Regions from separate parts of the Homo sapiens genome. Here all the other regions are linked to region 2. The links are contacts of gene promoters, found by promoter capture Hi-C in blood cells and fetal thymus (Javierre and others, 2016). All regions are on one chromosome and are shown on one strand. Each heading gives the region's core, a stretch centred on a gene start or on the middle of the fragment in contact. The rest is flanking DNA. Distances are from core to core; before and after follow the strand shown. Region 1 has its middle 28 kb from the start of FOXD1. Region 2 holds the start of OTP (orthopedia homeobox). Region 3 has its middle 12 kb from the start of FOXD1. Region 4 overlaps LINC01386 (long intergenic non-protein coding RNA 1386).

Region 1 (3,154 bases), core at 345-2,844, 4.2 Mb before region 2:
ATTCGTTTTCCTGGGCAGTATTCACCATAGAAGCCCCACCCAACTGACACAGACCCCCGCATGCAGTATGTAGGGAAAAGCTGAACTGCCTCTACAGAATTATAATATGAATAATAATTTAGGAAACGGGGATATGAAATAATAAGAGCAGAATGCTTAACGAAGGAACTAGAAATTCATTAGCAATCCTGAATTGCTGGAAGAGGCAGCGGTTGAAAGGCAGATGCTGTTGCGATTAGCACTTGGCCTCGGGCTGGTACCCACCAGCCTCTGAGCTTACCTTTTCTGATCCTCTAAGTAAGAAAACCTAGAAGAGTCCCCTCATTTTGTTTACCGGGTGTGAATGGGAGGCAGAGATTGAGGGTCGGGGAGAGGGAATAAACTTGCCCTAGAACAAAGCAAACAACTACATTAAACAGAGGGGCTGTTACAAAAGCAAAATGTGGGCAGTGCATACATTTTTAATGACCAGGACTCGGGTGCCCTGTGCAAACATAAACAGCTCCCTGCCAGCGGAGGGCTAGAAACCTTCCAGTCCTGAGTTTCAGCTCCCTGCCACCCCCTCCTAAGGGTGCCTGGCTGGCCCTGACAAAAATCATTTACAAATAAAGAGCTCTCAGAAATGTGCCCTACCTTCGGCCAAAGAAGAGAACCTCTTTTCCAATAAATATTTGGCCGGGTAGTGGGGAGGGGGCGCCAAGAGTAACAAAGGGAGCCAGCGGCCTGGTTTGTTTGGATTGCCGGGCCGGCGCGGGAGCGGCCGGGCGCAGCTGACCACGGGTACAGATAGGTTAATTTCCACATGGAGCTGCAGAAACCCTATCCGCGGGTTGCGAAGCGTGGGTCAGCCAAGGCATGTTAATCTGTTTAGCATGTGCGCCGCGCGGAGGAGCCAGACCACCGGGGCGCAGGAGGCGCGGCCGCAGCCGGCGCTCCTCTGGGGGAGTTAATAAAGAGCTTAAGGCAGGCAAGTAAGTGTATGGAGGCTGCGAGCGGCTTCTTGCGGGCGGCCCGGGGGAGGGCGAGGCCCGGCTGCCTGCGCTCGCGTTCCCAGGCCCTCGGAACCGCGCGCCCTCGAGGCCGAGCGAGCCCCGCCGCGCCGAGCCTCCCGGGCGTCCGCAGGCCTGGCGCACACCGAAGCGGGGGGCGCAGTACTGCTCTCCCGCCCCCCGGAGCCGAGCCTCTTCGCGTTCGCACCGTGAAAGGAGGGGAGCGAGGGGTTAGCCATCTCGAACATTTTTAACTAATCAAAATATTTGCTGATGAGTATTTATTTTTACAAGAACTCGGTTTGGCTGGAGACTTCCCGAGCAACAATATGGGCTGCCGTATTAGGTTTGTGACGGAGCCAAGTGTGGTTGGGGCTTATTGAATCTGCGGGCCGGAGATCGCTCGCTCCGGAGACGTTTCTCCGTTCTGGGGAAGCAGCTTTCCCAAAACCGTCCTTCTGCAGATGGCTCTTAGAACACAACCACATGTCCCCTAAAGCACGGGAAGCTTCGTGTTTTATGTTTGGGCTGAATGAAAAGAGGAACGCACGCTCTTTCCTGCCCAAGCCAACAAAAGAGAAAATAGCGGGAAACGTCCCTGACCTGAGAAAGGAAAGCCAAAGCTCAGAGGTTCCAGTGTAAGCACAAACAACAAAACTGGATGAGTCCAAAACACCTACCTCAACACATCGCTTCATCGTGCTAAGCTTTTTCTCTCTCTTGTCTTTCTTCCTCCCAATATCCACCCAAGAAAGACCCACTTTTAACTTTACCGTAGTAAAGATGTTGAGTCTGGTCTGAAGGTGATTAAACAACTACGTCAAGTCATTGCAAAGCCACTGGCCACTCTCTAGGAAAAGCTATGGAAGATGAAGTCGAATCAAGTTTGAAAACGGACAAGTGGGAGCTTATACTACTTGAACTATAAAGATAACCTGAAAAATACTGGACCTTAATTTTTTCAATGTTACTGACTGAGAACTAGATAAAACATATCTGAACTGGCAATAATAGTCATTAAGAAATGGACTGCTGTGGCAGGAACTCGTTATTGCTAACCTCTAACAATTCAGCAGTCCTTAGAAAGTGCCTCATAAAGAGTACTTCTCAATGACTCTTAAGAAAAGGGAAGTTGGGTAGGGGTTGTTCTGGAAGACAGTATGCAGGGTATTGCTGGTAAGAAGTGTCTGCAGAAAGTGTAAATGAGCAAATATTGAAAAGAAGAGATTGTTGGCTCACTCCTGTAATCCCAGCACTTTGGGAGGCTGAGGAGGGCAGATCACCTGCGATCAGGAGTTCGAGAGCAGCCTGGCCAACATGGCAAAACCCCTTCTCTACTAAAAATACAAAAATTAGCCGGGCATGGTGGTGAGCGCCTGTAATCCCAGCTACCCAGGAGGCAGAGGCTGGAGAATCACTTGAACCCATGAGGCAGAGGTTGCAGTGAGCCGAGATCGCACCACCGCACTCCAGTCTGGGCAACAGAGCTAGACTTCATCTCAAAAAAAAAAAAAGAAAGAAAATAGGAAGTTGAATCAGAGCAAGCAGAGAGTAAATTTACCTTATGAAAAGACTTCCCAAGTGCAAGATGAGACAGAACTCATTCAAATGTACACAGAAGAGAAATATCTGAAGAGCCATAGAGATCTTGAGCTAAGTATCAGTTGGCAATGCAATCTGAAGACTTTCAAAAGCAAGCGTAGTACTAGGAAATAGAAAGTAAAATGAACTGTTTGGAACCATGTGCCAACTTCTCCCTGGTTTCTATATTAGAGGTTTTTTTTTGTTCAGTCTGGGGAGCCACAACTGAAGAGATTTGGGGAATTAAAACAATCTTTTTCTCTTACACTTCTTCACTTGCTTGGTTTATATTGCTCATGAAGTGTCTTGATCTAAATGACTTAATACAGTGTCCACCTGTCTGATTTGGGCCCATACGCTCCTCCAACTCAAAACTAAGGTGTGAAAGAAGCTTATGGGTCCTTTTGATCAAAGAGGCACATGGCCCTAAATTTAAAACAGAAAAGGAAAGATAGCACTAGTACAAACGGCCTTCAGTTTACATTATTTTGAAACTGATTGGCAGAAATGAGGGGAATAAGGAAAGTAAAAATTTCAGCAAACCAGAAAAAAAAAATCACAGCTGAGGAACTTAAATTCTTTGG
Region 2 (3,064 bases), core at 233-2,732:
CTGAGGAGGCAAGGGGATCGCGGTCACTACTTTCTTGGCGATGCCAGGAGGGGCTGTCTTCCCCGCGCAGCCTTCCTTCAACCCGTCCTCGGCCCCCTCCGCACCCGCGCTTGTCCTAAGGAAGAAACTCCCAGGGTATTCAGCTGGGTTCCCCAGAATTTGGACAGCCGGGTTGGAATAATATCTCCCGGCCCCTTGCCCTCGCCGCAGCCGGCTCCCGTAGTAAACAGCACAAGCTTTCGTCTCTCCCACAATAAAACACTCCCAGTCCCGGCAATAAAACATGCCTCTGAATCCCTTCCATAAACCGTACCCCAGGCGCCCCAGGAAATCGAGAGCAAATCTTTGGACACAGGGGTGCGGGGGGCAGAAAGAAAATTAAACAATTCCTCGGTTGCTGCGGCACCTGCGCTTCGGCAGCCTGACGAACTGTACCTCCGGCCCTCAGCCGATTCCCTCTTACTTTCGGAAGATGAATAAGCCTCCAAGCTTTCACCCCCCGAAATCAACCCAAATCAGCTCCGCCTCCCCCTCAAATCAGAGAAAGTGTTTGGAAAATGGAGTCACATCCATCACCGAAGATTCCCAATCCGGAAACCCAGAGCTCAGCAACCCAGATAGCATTAAGGAAACTCGAGTGAACTCTATGGACAACCGTGAATCAAACTTTAGAGATTTCAACTTTTCTTTCCAGAGAAATAAAAGGCGCATTCCTCACAGCCATTGGCAACGCTGAGTCCCTTGCAGAAGAGGGGGGGATGACTGTGAGGTTGAATTTGGCTTCTCTCCTTCTCAACCAGCACACTTAGCAAATCCGCCTTGATGGCAGCAGCTTCTCCTTTATGCCAGATTTTTTACAAATTACACCACACTTAGAAAAGGAGGAGAGAAGAAGATGGTGGGGAGAGAGAAACGGGGGGAGGGAAGGAGAAAGAAATCCCAAATCAAAACAAACAGGAGAGGGAAAAAAGAGAGAGAAACACCTCCTAACAAATTATCACGGGGTATATCGCCTTTCGAAAAAAAAAAAAAGGCGGGGGAGGGGGGAAGAGAAAAATAAGAAAAACAAAAAGTAACAACATTCCCCAACTCCTTTCTTGGATCTACATATTCCATAGATTTTTTTTTAAAGGCGATGTTAAATCAAATTAAACTTTAATGCAGCACAATTACTTTTAAAGAAATTAGTCCATTTAGGTCGCATTAAGGTAAAATAAGGAACAAATTGACAATTTCCTGCCCCGGCTTCTCCTGGCTGCCCGGGCGAGAGGCGCGCACTCACCTAGCCTGGCGTCCAGGAGGTCGGCATGAGACAGCATCGCGCACCGCTCCAGGGCGAAAGCTGTTCCCCCCCAAATTTTAGCGGCTTTAAGTTATTTAAAATAGATATAAGCTATAAGCTATACGATATAGATATATATAGATCACCTAAATGAAAGAAAATTCGGTTTGTGGTTAAAAAGGGGGCTTCTTGCATTATAATGTCCTTTAGAGAGACGGGGAGGTGCTTAACAGTTGAATGAACCCGTGAGCAGCTCGGCGAGGGGACCAATCAGGAGGGCAGCCTGCAAATGTCAGCGCCCGGAGAGTCCCCCACTCCGCCCGCCCGCTCGCCTGCGCCCGCCTGAAGGAGGCGGCGGCGGCAGCCCTGGCAGCTCCAGCCCGGAGCAGGAGCTAAAGCAGCCTCAGCCGCCTCGGCCTCGCCCTGAGCTTCTGGGCCCGGCTCCCTCTAGTTCTTCCCTGCGATTTTCTCCAGGCTCCCCTTTCCTTCCCCTTGGCCGGCGCTGCGCGCTTCGAAGGCGTAGCTCTGTGCCTCTGAGCTAACATCTTCCTAGGGCAGGGGCAGAGCAGGGGTCAGAGCGGGCCATGACCCTGGCGTGACCTGAGGGTCGCCCCCACCTGCGCTCTCTGGGCCTGCCGCTCATATTGGCCCGCCAGCCCAGGGCGCGACGAGGGCACACCGCGGCCTTCAGACAACGCCTGGACTTCGCCGCGGCTCAGTAGGCCTGCGCCTAGGGTCCAGGCGCCCTGGCTGTGCCCTGGGGTCTATACGAGCCCCAACCCCACAGTGGGCCTAGAGCGCAAAGAGGAGTCGGCTTCCCTGGCACCGCCAGCGCCCGCTGTCTGCTTTGGGGACCCTCGCGGAGTGTGGGTTCGAGCGCTCTGCACTCTTCTCACCGGGCTTCTTCCCGGCTCCTGCTCTTCCGCTTGGCCCACGCCCGCATCCTCGCCCCTAACTCGCTCTTTTGGTCAAAGTTTCTAAGTTCAGCTCGGCTCCCAACTCCACTTAAGGCTGTAAATAAAGTTAAATGCTCTTTATTTTCCTCTTGAATATGTTAAACTACTTGAACAATTTAAAGTGCTTTGCACAAGTGAAGCGAACCATTTCTAATGTTCTGATTTTTCAGAGCCAGCCAACAACAAAGTTTAGATTAGTAATATATTTCTAACCAGAGTAATTTTCAAGATCATTAGGCATTTATGTAATTAGTGCCAAATCTATAAGCTTTTATTACGATTATTAGAGTAAAATCAGTATAAATTTGTACTAATTTACTACTGTTTAGACTTGGCTGTCAAGCCTAGAGGTTCTTATTGTAAATGATAACTGAGGAAATTAAGTGCAAAATTCTGTACCATTTCTGATCTGCTCCTAAACAATCCGTTTCAATTGTATTTGTAGCAGAACATAATGCCCTTTTAAAGTTATTTGACTTGTATTTTTATTTGCAACACAAGAAAAATGCCCTCTACCCAGTCACAATGAAAACTGATATTTACTACTCCCAACTTGATTAACATTGATTTTTAATTCGAGAGTGATGCAATTAAGATTATTCATTTAGTGCAAATAAACCTTCCACAAAAGGGTGGCCCAATGAAGTCTGTTTTAAATAATACTGAGCAAATGGCTTTTTTTGTTCGCCGTCCAATTGACTTAGACAAAACATTGAAAATGCTGGCTGAGAGCAGATGCGAGAGGAATTGTGTGTGTGTGTGTGTGTGTGTGTGTGTGTGTGTGTGTCCTCAGCTGTATGTGTGACAGGGACCGAGCAAGGAGACA
Region 3 (2,873 bases), core at 141-2,640, 4.2 Mb before region 2:
CAATATGTCTACTATTTCTCTTTTGCTTCCCTGTTATCCTGTGTCTGCAGTTCTTTCTAATGAGCCATGAAAAAGACAAAGAAAAAATACATCTACATATAAACTATGGGGACAGAATCAACAGCTTGCCTAAGGAATTGAACCAAGTCAGGTTTAACTTCTTAAGACAGATTTGGAGATGGACTTAAGAGGGAAGGAAGAAGACTGAGGAGTATAGTAAGAATCTGTCTGTCTAGTCACACAGTAGGTGCTCCACACACATTTCTTTTAAAAAAAACTGGTAACAAAAAATACACATTATTTACGCAAGCGAGGAACTCCTACAGCATAATGTTTGGCCAAGATAGTGACTTCAGGATGGCACCCGACCCACTTTCCTCTCATTCCCAAATGCTTACTTGGAAATTCCATGTTGCTAAAAGTGAGGACGAGGAGAGGGAGGAGCTGGTAAGTATGTGAGAAATACGGAAGACAGATGGAGAGGAAAATGTGTAGCCTACCGAATGCAAAAGGATGCTTTCCAAGACAGAAGGAGGGAACTAGGCGCCTTTTTTCCACTCCGCTGACCCCAACGTCTGGGCTGTGCGTTGTAACGCAGTTGGCGGGGCCTTCAGCTTGGGATGAGGGCGAAGGGGCTCGGGATGGGTGGGAAAGCAAGGACCGGGCAACAGGTGGGGAGGTGGCGGACTTTTGTCTCGGGGAAGGAAATCGGCTGTGCTGAAAGGGCGGAAAGCAGTAGCGCACAGAACTAGTGTCTGCGGGGTCCCGGGCGCTCTCGCCTTCGCCCTGGGCTCCTCTAATTAGAGAGGGGATGCAGGGTGGCATTAGTTCCCAAACGTTTTAATCGAGCCTCTTTTCAATGGCCAGGGATAAATGTAGCCACTGTTACTCTGTGCTGAATGGGTCGCAAAGGCCCCCGCCCGGCCCCCAGCGAGGCCATTCAGGCGTCTTTTCACAACCCCTAAGCGGTTCAGTCCCCGGGCCTAGCGACACTCCAGAGCGCTCCTAATTAGTCTAATTAGAAAGGTGGATTGATAGATGGAAAGAAGACAGAGTTGGGTTAGGAAGATGCTCAATGCTGCCAATCTCGGCTGGGTTGCCGCTTATTCTCTGCGTAAAGAAAAGGCCGCAAAGAAGGAAGTTGGAGCCGAAGCCCGCGCTGGGGCTGGGCTCTGGCCGGATCGCAGGCTGGGCGGTCTTTGACCCCCCGCGCCTCCCGCCCACAGCCGGAGCCCGGCAGCTGGAAGCACCCGCTACCCCGGGGAGCGTCTCCAGGCCGCGGTCTCCGGCCTTCGCCGAGCGAGGCGGGCGGGAAGGTAGGGCCGCGGTGGAGCGGGCACGGCCTCCCGCCCCAGCCCGGAGCCTCTCCGCCCCGCCGGGCCCCGCGGCCGCCCCTTCCTCACCCGGAAAATCGTGGGGAGGCGCGGCGTAGCGGCCGGACCCCTGGCCTCCGCGTCGGGCTGCGCCACGTGGCAGCTCCCAGCGCCCTCCCGTCCCGGCCTCGCATGCTGTCGGGGGAGCGCCTCGTCCCACTCAGGCCGAAACCCCAGGAAGGAAATCACTCTGGGCTGGGGACGCGGCCTTTCTGCTCGCGGCTGTTGGGTGATGTGCCCGAGGTTTCTCTGCCCTTCTCCGGGCGCAGGCCGTTCATTCGCGCCGCCGCTCCTGAGGGTCGCTGGGCGCAGAACCGCCTCGGCCGCGGCCCGGCCTTAGGCGCGGCCTCGCGCATTCCTGCGCTCGCCACAGCCGGCGGGAGGCGGGGAAGGGAGCAGCCCGGGTGGCTTGGAGAACACTGAACCTTTAATTGGGCTATAAATCAGACAGGGGAGTGCGGTGGAGTTTATGCAGGTGTAAAAACAGAGGGGAAAGCCCGGGCCGAGCAGCCAAAGCGCCCGGGCAGGTCAGAACCTCCAGCAAACTAACATCTTGATAAGTCCGCTGACAACAAAATAAACAGTGGAGAAGGCTGGAGGGCGGGGGGCGCCGTGGCCCGCGGCTGGTTCGCAGCAGCTCGGCGGCCTTCTGCGAGGGGAAGGCGGGCCGCTCTCGGCTTTGTGCTTGGGGCTTTAGGAGGGGGGCGGTTGGAGGAGAGAGAGAAGCCGAATTATCTCCCTTTCCGCGTCTCATTCCCGTGGATGGAGGGCCCCGGGAGCGTTTGACGATGGCAGTTTGGGGCGTGCGCGCTGCCTCGTCGGCCCCTACGACGTCAGGCGCCGGAGCTGCCGGGGCCCCGGGCGAGCGGGCAGCGGCCCCCGCGTCCCTCCCGGACACAGCGCCACCGAGAGGCCGAGCCTCCCGCTCCTGTTGCCATTTCAAGGGCTGACGCCTGGAAAACACCGCCAGGCCCCTGGCCGAAGGAGGTAACTAACCGAGTCGAAACGGCGATCAGAAATTAATTCAGTGCCCTGCTCAGGAGCAAAACCGTCAAAACCCCATCGAGATGTTGGCGCAAGCGGATTCACACACAAAGGAAAACAATAAAAGTCTCGTTAGATCATTTTTCTGGACATTGTTTAAGGTCTGAAAGGGACCAAATCGTTTCAAAATGTTGCCAGTAAAAATTATCCTATGTGGAATGCAACTAATCCTTTTAGGTTCCTGTCAACTGTTTCCACAAAAGGAATCCGATTTTTCAAATCAAAGATCCAAAAGTCTTTGGGGAGAGATTTATTACATGCCAGAGCTTTAGTTACAGAATAGAGTTACAGTAACAACCCGCGCCCACCAACTCCCTAAAATAAGGGATCCTATCCTACATAACTCTAAAGACCTGTGGGATATAGTTTGCTGGAGTCCTGCTATCTATGCAGATAGGGAGGGAGGCCAGGAAGGGGGGAGGAAGGCAAAGAAATAGTAAATTCCTTAAATAGAAA
Region 4 (2,850 bases), core at 224-2,723, 4.2 Mb before region 2:
TTCCTTAAACAAGCATTTCATGGCCTGAGCAGGGCTCAGAAATCCTCAAGAATTCAGAATGTCAGCAAAAGTCCAAATCTGTGTTTCATAACACCAAAATTATTTACATGGACTCAGAAATTTTCCTTACATTGTTAACCTGGACTGGTCCTCCCATCCTAACACACACCCACACACAGACTTACTTAGCTCCGCATCTAAGTGGTTTGTAGTGGCACATGTTTAGATTTTGTACCCCAAAGCTCAAAAAGTATTTTTTATCATGAATTTAACTGAAAAATACACATATTTCCATTCCAGAGAGGACTCCTCTTGTTGGGGGCTAACTTCAACACCAGACTCTCCTGAGTACATCTTTGCAGCTCTATAAACTTCTGGTATTTGTTCACATTGTCTAATAATTTCCTGGAAATAGACTTAGTATTTTTAGTTATAAGAAGAATTGAAAAATAATATTGCTGTTCTAGAAGAAGGCATTTATTTATTTTGCATTTGTACTTCACCCAGAGGCTGGCTGTGCAGACAAATCTCTCTGCTTGGGAACGACAGGGCTCTCTAAAGTAACTCTAGGGATGCAGCTGTCTACAAGTCACACTGAAAATGAAAAGTATGTTTATGAGGTCATGAGAAAGTCTTGTCATAAGTTGTAATTTTGTGTGTGTATTTAAAAGGTATTTGGTGACCAACCTTTTCTGTCTCACACCCGCACACACACACTATTGCCTGATTTCCAGGCTTAAACTGAGACTGAACTATCACCTGTCTGTTACGCATATGCAAACACACTGAAACCTCATTGTCTACACTCAGTGTGGCACTTCACCTGATACCACCATCTGACACCAGGCTGCAAGTCATAGGTTGCAGTCAGGTACATACACCCCTTTGCAAGAAGGCATTCTCAAAACCTTCCACTAGAGGCACGTGTGAGCACCTTTGCTAGAAAGCTTTGGTCGGCTAGCCTTCCAGAGCAGAAAAAACTGGGAAGGGCCTGAACCCAAAATTTACATAAAAGTAAATACAAATAATGAATGATTCCCTACTCTTCAGAGACATGCAAAATAGGAAAGAGAAAACTCTATCAGATTAGCAAACTACATGAGGATGATGAACATGATGGTAGGAATTCAATTACACACTGCCTGTGGAACTATAAAATTGTACAAACCTTTCAGCAAACAATTTGGCAAAACAGAGCTTGTATCTTAGTGTCCGTTCCCTTGAATCCTTTCATTCTAAGATTCTATTTTATGGAAATAACCAGAAATATGAGCAAATATTTATGTTCAAAATGTTTGCGGCAGTTTTTTTTTAAGAAGCAAAAAAAAAAAAATAGAAACATTCTAAATGCTCGGGATTAAATATATTATTCTCATGATGGAATATTTTGCAATCACTAAAGCGAGGTCCGTGAACAGTTTTAATAACTTGAGAAAATCTTAAAGTTAAGAGAAAGGTTCAGATAGAAAATTACATACAGTATTTTCTCAATAATTCAATGTACTAAACATGCAAAAGACTGGAAGAAAATACAATAAAATGTCAATTGGTTAACTCTGGGTGAAATTATGGGTGGTTTTCATTTTGTTATTTATATTATATTTTTCTATGTTTTCCAAATTTTTCAGCCTGAGCAATTTCCAAAGTGCTGAGTTGAGACAGCTGAGGAGCACAATTAGTGTAAAAGAAAGACTACAGATGGAACAGTTCATATCATTTGAAGCATGATTATAGGAATAGACATCAAGAATTTAAAGCAAGCATAATACATATATCAAAGAGGGAGGGGACTTATTAGTAACATTAAGCAAAAGAAAGAAATAATTGTTTTAAACCTAGTGGAAACATTAAGTATGAAGAAAGTAATAAAATAAAGGGCAAATAGATGGAATACATAGCAGAATGTAGCACAACAGTGTGACTGTTGTCAATAATAATTAATTGTACATTTTTAAAATAACTAGAAGAGCATAGTTGAATTGTTAGTAACACAAAAGATAAAAGCTTGAAGGGATGGATACCTTATTCCCCATAATGGGATTATTATGCATTGCCTGCATATATCAAAACATCTCAGGTACCCCATAAATATATACACCTACTATGTACCCACGACAATTTTTTAAATTTCTTTTTGTTAAAAAAAAACCCTCATCTGGAGCCACAACAATTTAATTTTTAAAAAACAAATATGAAGCAGAATAGATACAACTGAAGAATGGACTGGGTTTGAAGAGTTTGAGGAGCTCTTCCAAAAGCAGCAGGAAAAGACAAAATTCTGGCTCATGAAATCAATTTAGTGCATTTTGACCACAACTGAAAGAGAATAGAACAGAACAGAATGGGATGGGTTAGGATAGAAAACATCACTGCACAGCACATAATAATGCTAAGAATAGTTTGTGAAAACTTTATTTCAGTTATTTTTATTTTTATACTTTTGTGCGTGTGTATGTATACTGAGTTTCTATGTAAAATGATCTCTTGGTTTCCTTGAGCCCAGAAGTTCGAGACCAGCTTGGGCAACATAAGAAGACCCCATCTGTACAAAAAATAATAATTAAAAATGAGTAAAATAATTTCTTAGTGTGGGTTACAATAAAAAAGTTTGAAAGCTCCTCTTTCATTTTATTTATTTTAGATCCAGGAGGTACATGTGCAGGGTCGTTACATGAGTATATTGCATGATACTGAGGTTTGTGCTTCTATTGAACCCATCACCCAAATAGTGAAAATAGTACCTAATATGCGGTTTTTCAACCCTTGCCCTCTTCCCTAATTTTGGAGTCCCCAGTGTGTCTATTGTTCCCATCTTTGTGTCTATGTGTACCCCATGTTGAGCTCCCATTT

The links. The method cuts DNA at HindIII sites, captures the fragments that hold promoters and counts their contacts. A CHiCAGO score of 5 or more calls a contact.
Region 1: a contact is called between a fragment that was not itself captured here and the fragment with the promoter of OTP in region 2, in 2 of 17 cell types (naive B cells and total B cells). The highest score is 31.4, in naive B cells.
Region 3: a fragment that was not itself captured here is called in contact with the fragment with the promoter of OTP in region 2 in 3 of 17 cell types (total B cells, naive B cells and total CD4 T cells); the score reaches 29.1 in total B cells.
Region 4: a fragment that was not itself captured here is called in contact with the fragment with the promoter of OTP in region 2 in 2 of 17 cell types (total B cells and naive B cells); the score reaches 25.6 in total B cells.

The regions. Positions count from the first base shown.
Region 1 is chr5:73,418,757-73,421,910 of GRCh38, forward strand. No RefSeq gene overlaps it. Among named protein-coding and RNA genes, the nearest start is that of FOXD1, 28 kb to the right of the region's middle. The HindIII fragment of the contact is 199 bases long and covers 1,496-1,694 here.
Region 2 is chr5:77,637,231-77,640,294 of GRCh38, forward strand. OTP (orthopedia homeobox) reads right to left here and starts at 1,483. Exons shown (of 3, transcript NM_032109.3): 1 at 1,283-1,483. The coding sequence starts at 1,319. RefSeq lists enhancers at 1,469-2,025, 2,026-2,580. The HindIII fragment of the contact is 2,017 bases long and covers 488-2,504 here.
Region 3 is chr5:73,435,451-73,438,323 of GRCh38, forward strand. No RefSeq gene overlaps it. Among named protein-coding and RNA genes, the nearest start is that of FOXD1, 12 kb to the right of the region's middle. RefSeq lists an enhancer at 172-1,075. The HindIII fragment of the contact is 4,913 bases long and covers 1-2,873 here.
Region 4 is chr5:73,453,726-73,456,575 of GRCh38, forward strand. LINC01386 (long intergenic non-protein coding RNA 1386) reads right to left here. Exons shown (of 5, transcript NR_126410.1): 5 at 465-594. Among named protein-coding and RNA genes, the nearest start is that of FOXD1, 6.4 kb to the left of the region's middle. The HindIII fragment of the contact is 1,057 bases long and covers 946-2,002 here.